Regions from separate parts of the Homo sapiens genome. Here region 1 is linked to region 2. The links are contacts of gene promoters, found by promoter capture Hi-C in blood cells and fetal thymus (Javierre and others, 2016). All regions are on one chromosome and are shown on one strand. Each heading gives the region's core, a stretch centred on a gene start or on the middle of the fragment in contact. The rest is flanking DNA. Distances are from core to core; before and after follow the strand shown. Region 1 overlaps GPATCH8 (G-patch domain containing 8). Region 2 holds the start of ITGA2B (integrin subunit alpha 2b).

The links. The method cuts DNA at HindIII sites, captures the fragments that hold promoters and counts their contacts. A CHiCAGO score of 5 or more calls a contact.
Region 1: a contact is called between a fragment that was not itself captured here and the fragment with the promoter of ITGA2B in region 2, in 1 of 17 cell types (megakaryocytes). The highest score is 8.7, in megakaryocytes.

The regions. Positions count from the first base shown.
Region 1 is chr17:44,494,458-44,499,197 of GRCh38, reverse strand. All of the region lies in intron 1 of GPATCH8 (G-patch domain containing 8), which reads left to right. Among named protein-coding and RNA genes, the nearest start is that of GPATCH8, 6.6 kb to the left of the region's middle. The HindIII fragment of the contact is 9,814 bases long and covers 1-4,740 here.
Region 2 is chr17:44,388,114-44,392,421 of GRCh38, reverse strand. ITGA2B (integrin subunit alpha 2b) reads left to right here and starts at 2,773. Exons shown (of 30, transcript NM_000419.5): 1 at 2,773-3,136. The coding sequence starts at 2,949. RefSeq lists an enhancer at 2,557-2,616. The HindIII fragment of the contact is 14,706 bases long and covers 2,326-4,308 here.

The DNA of each region.
Region 1 (4,740 bases), core at 264-2,763, 110 kb before region 2:
ACCGCGCCTGGCCCTCTGCATTTTATTTCTAATGAAAAGGAACTACAGTAATAGATCAGTGAGTGATAAGTTGATAAGAGAAACAAGACATGCTATGTTAAAGGTCGTAATAAAAATACAGAAATTGCCCAAGAACTTTCTGTAATCTATGTAAGTAATCATAATGGTAAATAGCAATAAGCTAGTCATGTATTACATTTATGCAGTATGTTTGTAGGAATCCTCTTTGTGTTTCCATATGTAACCAGTATGTGACCCTTAGGAAATTCTTAGTTGAGACTATTAAGTGAAGAGGTTCATAGTTTTAAGATATTTAAGTCACAGAAGCATATTAGTGTATTTTCTGTATGTAATATAGTTGGCATTGTAATTCAGGTATGCCAGATATGACACATGGACAAGTGTTTTAAATCGTTTTTCCTATGTCTCGCTCCCGTAATCTGGAAGAAATGCCACAAGCTGTGAAAATTAATGTCAGTTTGGCTTGGGATACTGAAATTTATACAAAATCATTACTCTTCCCTGTCTCATAGTATGATAAGTGAAAAGGATTAGAATCAGGGCTGTACCAGTTTCAAAATACTGATGCTGAATTGACATGATTGTTAGCAAATGCAAAATGATATTGACATTGGTTAATACATTCTTAGGAGATCGAGAGTGACCAAAGTAAAGTCAGCATAAGAGAAGTTTCCCTGGAGGTGATTTGAAGGGTAAATGGTATATAATCACTTTTCAAATGTGGGACATATCAAGGACATCTCAACATCACAGAGAGAGACTTAAGTTGTAATTAGGAAAGATTGGGGTTGGGAAGAACTGTGATCAGAGGACTTCATGTGATGATGTATATTATTTGTTTTCAAAGTAGGCATGGGAGGCAGGAAGAAACAGATCTGGACAAATAGAGTATTATGCCGAGTATTATTTCAGGGCTCTTACAATACAGTCAAAATGATAGAAAAACAGGTACTCCTGTTGTACCTTTCCCTTTCTTCTATACATGTAACACAGTTCTCATTAGAGTACTGCAAAGGGATTCTTTCATCACAGTTTCTCATGTCTTTATGATAAATTGTATAACCAAAGCTAAAATTTGTGACTTAAAAATATTTCAAGATACATATGTAATAAGCTATCCTGATTGTGCTGCTTCATAATTGAGATACATTTCCATGTGATTTCTGTCTATCTGGGTACATGATAAAAATTTTTAAAAGGACAGTCTGTTTTTCTTTTCTTTTTTTCTTTTTTTTTTGGAGACAGTGTCTGGCTCTTTTGTCCAGGCTAGAGTACAGTTGTGGGATCTTGGCTCATGCAGTCTCCACCTCCTGGGCTCAAGCAATCCTCCCGCTTCAGCCTCCCAAGTAGCTGGGACTACAGGAATGTACCACCATGACTGGCTAAGTTTTGTACTTTTTTTAGAGACGGGGTTTCAACTTGTTGCCCAGGCTGGTCTTGAACTCCTGGGCTCAAGCGATCCTCCCACCTCAGCCCCCCAAAGTGCTGGGATTACAGGCATGCACCACTGCACCCAGCTGACAGTCTGTTTTTTTGATGTGGTCAAGACTTTTTTAAATTTAATTTTTTTAAATAAAAAATTCGTTTTTGAGACAAGGTCTCACTCTGTCACTCAGGCTGGAGTGCAGTGACGCGATCATGGCTCCTGGCAGCCTTGACCTCCCAGCTTCAAGTGATCCTCCCACCTCAGCCTCCTGAGTACCTGGGGCTACAGGTGTGTCACCAAGCCCTGCTAATTTTTTTCATTTTTGTAGAGATGGGGTTTCTCCATGTTGCCCAGGCTGGTCTCAAACTCCTGAGCTCAAGCTATCCTCCCACCTCGGCCCCTCAAAGTGTTGAGATTACAGGCATGTGCCACTGTACCTGGCCAAGATTGCCATTTTCTGAAAGCGTAGCAGAAGTTCATGAGATCTTAATTATGAATCAGAAACCTATGTAAAGTTTTCATTTTTGCTCTTGTGACTTAGTTTCTAGTATTTTATTAATGAAAATGGTTTCTAGCTTGAAGTAGATAGATTCCAGTTCGTGAGTTCTATTAAAATTCCTTCCCTGAAACAACTTGGTACTTTTGCTTGTAAGTCTGGCATTAATTTTCTTTTCATATTAGCATTACCATTTAGCATTAAGTGAAAGCAGATTCATGGTAATTACCAAAGGAATTACAGATGACCACCACAAATACTGAAAGAAGTCATTGATTTGATATTGCAGTGAATACCAGAAGATGTTGTAATAATTTTCCACTTATAAAAAGTGAATTGTCCATTTAACTCTGGAGGTCTAAGCAAATGTGCTTAATGCATATCGTATTAGTCAATGCAAAAAGTTAAATATGCCCAGGCTGAAAGAAGGTGTATAATGTATGGTCGTTCTTATACCAAATGATTTCTTTGGAATTTAAACAAATATGTTTAGTATTTTATTCCTAATTTAGGAAGAAAAAGCAACTAAAGTTGTTCTGACATTGTACACAGATGAGTAGCACGTAACTGTTATTTAGTAAGCCCCATAGATAGTAAGGAATAAAAGTTGTTAGTGAGCAAAACAGGAGTATCCTGCCATTTGCTTTAATTCTTCTTGTGATAGTTTTGAGGTACAATAATTCCTGTGTGCGTGTCACTCAAGCAACCAGAAAGTGTCTTTGTAATACGCATTTGGTCTCATCTCATGAAGTTCCAGTTGTTTGTTGTCATCCTTGTGACTCTTTGGTAATTACATTGATTTCAAAGAGGAATTCTAATTCATCTTACTGTTTCATAGAATTGAGACACAAAATAGCTTTACAGGTTTAAAGTTGTAATAGAAAAAAGTCATAGAGTTTTCTGACATTTTAATAATGACATTGTTGGAAAAGTCAGTACCTGTCTTATAGCCCCCATAACATTATTCTTCCAGAGTTAATAAGAAAAGAGGAGCTTACTTTTTCATCATTTTTGTAGGCAGTGCTGATCAAAATCAAGAAATTATTTTGATACTGTAGGTCTTGACTATAGAAGAAGTAAAGGTAGGCTGGGCGCGGTGGCTCACGCCTATAATCCCGGCATTTTGGGAGGCTGAGGGCAGGTGGATCACACGGGGTCAGGAGTTCGAGACCAGCCTGGCCAACATGGTGAAAACCCATCTCTACTAAAAATACAAAAAATTAGTTGGGTGTGGTGGTGCGCTCCTGTAGTCCCAGCTACTCAGGAGGCTGGGGCAGGAGAATCTCTTGAACCTGGGAGGTGGAGGTTGCAGTGAGCCGATACTGTGCCATTGCACTCCAGCCTGGGTAACAGAGTGAGACTCCATCTCAAAACCAAACAAAACAAAAAAAGAAATTAAAGCTAATGCTTGTGGATTGTATGCTGTAGTGTCAGTAATTTCCCTTGTTGCTATGAATAGAGCTATGAGTGAAATTATGAGGTATCTTTAAAGAAAGGGCAAAAGTGGTTGAAAATTTAATTGGTTTAATATTGTACTAGGGTATCATCTGTGCGAGCAATAACAAGGGGTATATTTACCTTTAGAATAGTTTCTAGAATATAGACTAATTTTTGAAAACTTAATTAAATAAAACAGTGTTTGAATAGTGGTTGTACGAAGAAGTACGTATTGTAGTGTAAGTATTTCTGTGCGGGTAGTTTGTTAAGAAGTGTTTTTGTTTTCAAGGAGTTTTCATTTTAGTTGGAGAGATAACATAAGTAGTAAGGTTTAGTTTATTATTCATAAGACCAGCATGATTATCAGAAAAACCAGCATGATTATCAGAAAAACAGTATAGCTAATAAATGCATAACTCTAAGTAAAGGAGAGAATCCTTAAAGTGGGATGATTGGACATGCTTTTATTTTATTTTATTTTTTTCAGACAGAGTCTTGCTCTGTTGCCCAGGCTAGAATGCAGTGGCATGATCTCAGCTCACTGCAACCTCCACCTCCTGGGTTCAAGCAATTCTCGTGGCTCAGCCTCACGAGTAACTGGGATTACAGGTGCCCACTACCACGCCTGGCTAATTTTTGTATTTTTAGTAGAGATGGGGTTTCATCATGTAGGTCAGGCTGGTCTTGAACTCCCACCTCCAGTGATCTGCCCGCCTTGGCCTCCCAATGTGCTGGGATTACAGGTGTGAGCCACCGTGTTGGCCTGGGCATGCTTTTATGAAGAAGTTAGCATTTAAGCTGGATCTTGAAGGATGGGATTGCATCCTTCAAGTGAATGGAAGTACACTCAGTTGGAAAAAATAGCCAGGACAAAAGTAAAGAAGTGGAACAAACAGAATTTGTTTTTTTAGGACAATGAATTAATGATTGGGCATAGGGAAAAAGTGAAGACTAGGGCTGCAAAGATAAATTTTATTTTAATGCTGTAAGCAGGCATGCACTAGCTATTTAAGGTTCTTAAGCTGAGGGATAGACAGTCAAAGCCCTCTTTCTTATAGGAAGATTAATTCAGCTATAGTTTGTTAGATGTGCTATACCCATATAGTTAAAGTGCTGATAACCAGTCTCTCTTAACCAGAGTTAATGTGAATAGGAGCAAAGGAGTAGAGGGTGTATACGAGGAGTGATTACAATAATGGACCATGTGATTTCTTTCTTTTATTTTGAGGTGAAGTTTCGCTCTCATTGCCCAGGCTGGAGTGCAATGGTGCAGTCTTGGCTCACTGCAACCTCTGCCTCGCGGGTTCAAATGATTCTCCTGCCTCAGCCTCCCAAGTAGCTGGGATTACAGGTGCATGCC
Region 2 (4,308 bases), core at 1,524-4,023:
TTTAGGCATAGTCTTACTCTTGCCCAGGCTGGAGTGGAGTGGCAAAATCGTAGTGCACTGTAACCTAAAACTCGTGGGCTCAAGTGATTCTCCTGCCTCGGCCTCCTCAGTAGCTGGAACTACAGGTGTGCACTACCGTGCCTGGCTAATTTTAATTTTTTTGTAGAGACAGGGTCTCACTATGTTGCCCAGGCTGGTCCCAAACACCTGGCTTCAAGCAATCCTCATCTTGGCCTCCCAAAGTGCTAGGGTTACAGGCATGAGCCACCAAACCTGGTGTAAAAAATCTTTATAATTTTATTTTTCTTTTCTTTCTTTCTTTTTTTCTTTTTTGATGGAGTCTCACTCTGTCGCCCAGGCTGGAGTGCAGTGGCATGATCTTAGCTCACTGCCACCTCCGCCTCACAGGTTCAAGCAATTCTTTTGCCTCAGCCTCCCAAGTAGCTGGGATTACAGACACACACCACCACGCCCAGCTAATTTTTGTATTTTTAGTAGAGACGGGGTTTCACTAGGTTGGCCAGGCTGGTCTCAAACTCCTGACCTTGTGGTCCACTCGCCTGGGCCTCCCAAAGTGCTGGGATTACAGGCATGAGCCACCATGCCCGGCTAAAATCTTTATGATTTTCCATCCCCCATGGATTAAAGTTCAGATTCCTTAATATGGCATTCAAGGACCTCCAGTAATTTGAATCCCCAAGCTTTACCCCCTTGCGCCTCAGTCCAACCCTTTAAGCATTCTGCTATGCTGAGTCAACTACTTGTCCTTCCCTACCTCTGTGTTCCTTTGCTGCTCTCATGTATTCTCTATGCCTAAAAACCCTTTCATTCTCTGACAAAAGGCAACTTGAACATGAGTTCAAGTGCAACCCATGTTTGAATCTTAGTTTTGCCATCTGTTGGCTGCGTAAACATGGGCAATTTACCTAAAACTCTTGTGCCACAGTTTTGTGTTTATAAAATGGGCATAATAGTACTTATTTCCTAGGGTTGTTATGAGTAACAATGATATACGACTTTGATAATCTGTGTATTTTTCAAGGCATGCTTGACTGTCTCTCTGCTGCAGTTATGTGTGTTCATGTCTTAACTCTTTCTGGGCTGTTTGTTAAGTCTCCTTGATGGCTATCTTTGGAGTTTTTAAAATATTTTATTTTTTATAATTTTAAAATAGAGACGAGGTCTCACTGTATTGCCTAGGCTGGTCTTAAATGCCTGAGCTCAAGCCATCCTCCTGCCTCAGCCTCCCAAAGTGCTGGGATTACAGGCATGAGCCACTATACCTGGCCTAATGGTTATCTTTGTATCCTTTATCAACACAGTGCCTTGAACAGAGTAAATACTTATTGAAAACTTGAGTGAAATGTAAGTTCATATTTGGCCTCACAGAATACACCAGTAATACAGCAATCACTCACCTGAGGACAGTGGGAGGATAGAAGGTAAGTAGAGGACTGGGTTAAGTATTCGTTCAAGCAAATACATTAATTACACGCCTCCCATGTACTTGACACTGGGAACTCAGCAATGAAGAAGGCCCAGACCAAAGTTCAGGCTTTTAGCTTCCTGTCCTATAAAGGATAAGATTCTTAACTCTAGGCTGAGGTAGTAAATTACGAGGGGACTTCAAAATGGTACAGGGTGGTTGAGCAGGATACGGCAATGGTTAAGTTTGATCAGAAAATAGAAATCAAAAGGAAAATGTGGCTATGGTTACCCCTAGCGGACCTCTTAAATCTTCCTGAGAACCTGCTTTTTTGGGAAGGCATGAGTGCCAGTAAGACTTGGCACTCCTCCTCTTCCGCTTACCGAGAGAAAATGACTTTGCCTTTCTGCTCAAAACTCATCCCTTCACTTTGTCACCCTATGTTTGCATCTTCCATCCTTAGTGTGTGTTTCCATCCAGTCTTTCAGCAATACACGTACTACACATTGGACTCTTGGGTAGTCTCTAGGGCTGTAGCAAGGAGCCTTGCTCCCAAGGGACTCATTTACACAATCCTGTGAACGGACCAAGAGTAAACAGTGTGCTCAATGCTGTGCCTACGTGTGTTAGCCCACGCGGCCAGCCTGAGGAGTCAGGGAAGGCTCCCCTAGGCAAAGCCCCCAACCAGAATCAAGTCTTAATGGTTAAAGAGCTCCATCACCCAAAAAGGATTGAGGGCCTACCTTCAACTGAACAGCTAATGCATAATCTCAGAAACTGTGAGTCAAAATTCCCTGGAATAACTCCACTTTATCCCCAATCTCCTTGCCACCTAGACCAAGGTCCATTCACCACCCTGTCCCCAGCACTGACTGCACTGCTGTGGCCACACTAAAGCTTGGCTCAAGACGGAGGAGGAGTGAGGAAGCTGCTGCACCAATATGGCTGGTTGAGGCCGCCCAAGGTCCTAGAAGGAGGAAGTGGGTAAATGCCATATCCAAAAAGATACAGAAGCCTCAGGTTTTATCGGGGGCAGCAGCTTCCTTCTCCTTCCCCGACCTGTGGCCAAGTCACAAAGCACCACAGCTGTACAGCCAGATGGGGGAAGGGAGGAGATTAGAACTGTAGGCTAGAGTAGACAAGTATGGACCAGTTCACAATCACGCTATCCCAAGCAGAAAGTGATGGTGGCTTGGACTAGCACGGTGGTAGTAGAGATGGGGTAAAGATTCAAGAGACATCATTGATAGGCAGAACCAATAGGACATGGTAATAAACTATTCTCAGGAAAGGGGAGGAGTCATGGCTTTCAGCCATGAGCATCCACCCTCTGGGTGGCCTCACCCACTTCCTGGCAATTCTAGCCACCATGAGTCCAGGGGCTATAGCCCTTTGCTCTGCCCGTTGCTCAGCAAGTTACTTGGGGTTCCAGTTTGATAAGAAAAGACTTCCTGTGGAGGAATCTGAAGGGAAGGAGGAGGAGCTGGCCCATTCCTGCCTGGGAGGTTGTGGAAGAAGGAAGATGGCCAGAGCTTTGTGTCCACTGCAAGCCCTCTGGCTTCTGGAGTGGGTGCTGCTGCTCTTGGGACCTTGTGCTGCCCCTCCAGCCTGGGCCTTGAACCTGGACCCAGTGCAGCTCACCTTCTATGCAGGCCCCAATGGCAGCCAGTTTGGATTTTCACTGGACTTCCACAAGGACAGCCATGGGAGGTGAGCCGTAAGGGAAGTTGGGGTATTGGGAGAGAGCAGGACCCCTCCCCATCACTGCTTCTGGGGGCTTCGAGTTTCCCATTTGCGATAGCAGTTGAGCAAGGTGACTTGTGGGGCCTATTCAGGTTGATTTCTTGTCAAGAATGTTGGGGTCCAGGGGACTGGCTCAGGTGAAGGTATAAGGGCAGGGCACATGTGGGCTGATGGGCACTGAAAACTACAGCAAGAACAAAGGGAAGACAAGAGTTGATGCTTTATTTTTTCCCCAAGGGTCAGTTGTATGAACCACTCCACCCTCAACACCTTGAAATGCAGAGAGGAGGCCGGGCGCGGTGGCTCATGCCTGTAATCCCAGCACTTTGGGAGGCCGAGGCGGGCAGATCACCTGAGGTCGAGAATTCGAGACCAGCCTGACCAACATGGAGAAACCCCGTCTCTACTAAAAATACAAAAAAAAAAAAAAAAAAGAGACCAGGCACAGTGGCTCACACCTGCAATCCCAGCACTTTGGGAGGCAGAGGTGGGCAGATCATGAGGTCAGGAGTTCAAGACCAGCCTGGCCAATATGGTGAAACCCTGTCTCTATTAAAAATACAAAAATTAGCTGAGCGTGGTGGCACACTCCTGTAGTCCCAGCTACTCGGGAGGCTGAGGTAGGAGAATCACTTGAACCCGGGAGGTGGAGGTTGCAGTGAGCTGAGATCATGCCACTGCACTCCAGCCTGGGTGACAGAGTGACACTCCGTCTCAAAAAAAAAAAAATTAGCCGGGCGTGGTGCCGCATGCTTGTAATCCCAGCTACTCGGGAGGCTGAGGCAGGAGAATCGTTTGAACCTGAGAGGCAGAGGTTGTGGTGAGCCGAGATCATGCCATTGCACTCCAGCCTGGGCAACGAGAGCGAAACTCTGTCTCAAAAAAAAAAAAAAAAAAAAAAGAAAGGAAATGTGGAGAGGAGCACATGTCCTAAATTGATTTGCAGAACTAAAGTTGTCTACCCTCCCGCACCTTGCATTTCTGTTCCATTTCCCTCATCTCCATCAACATTATAAATATTTGAAAAGAAGCAATAGGTCATTAATGATTAGTATTGATCAGGCTTCAGAATCAAGAGTGCCAAGATTAGAGTCTTGGCTCCTCCTCTTCATAGCGTGTACCCTGAGCTACTATTGTGA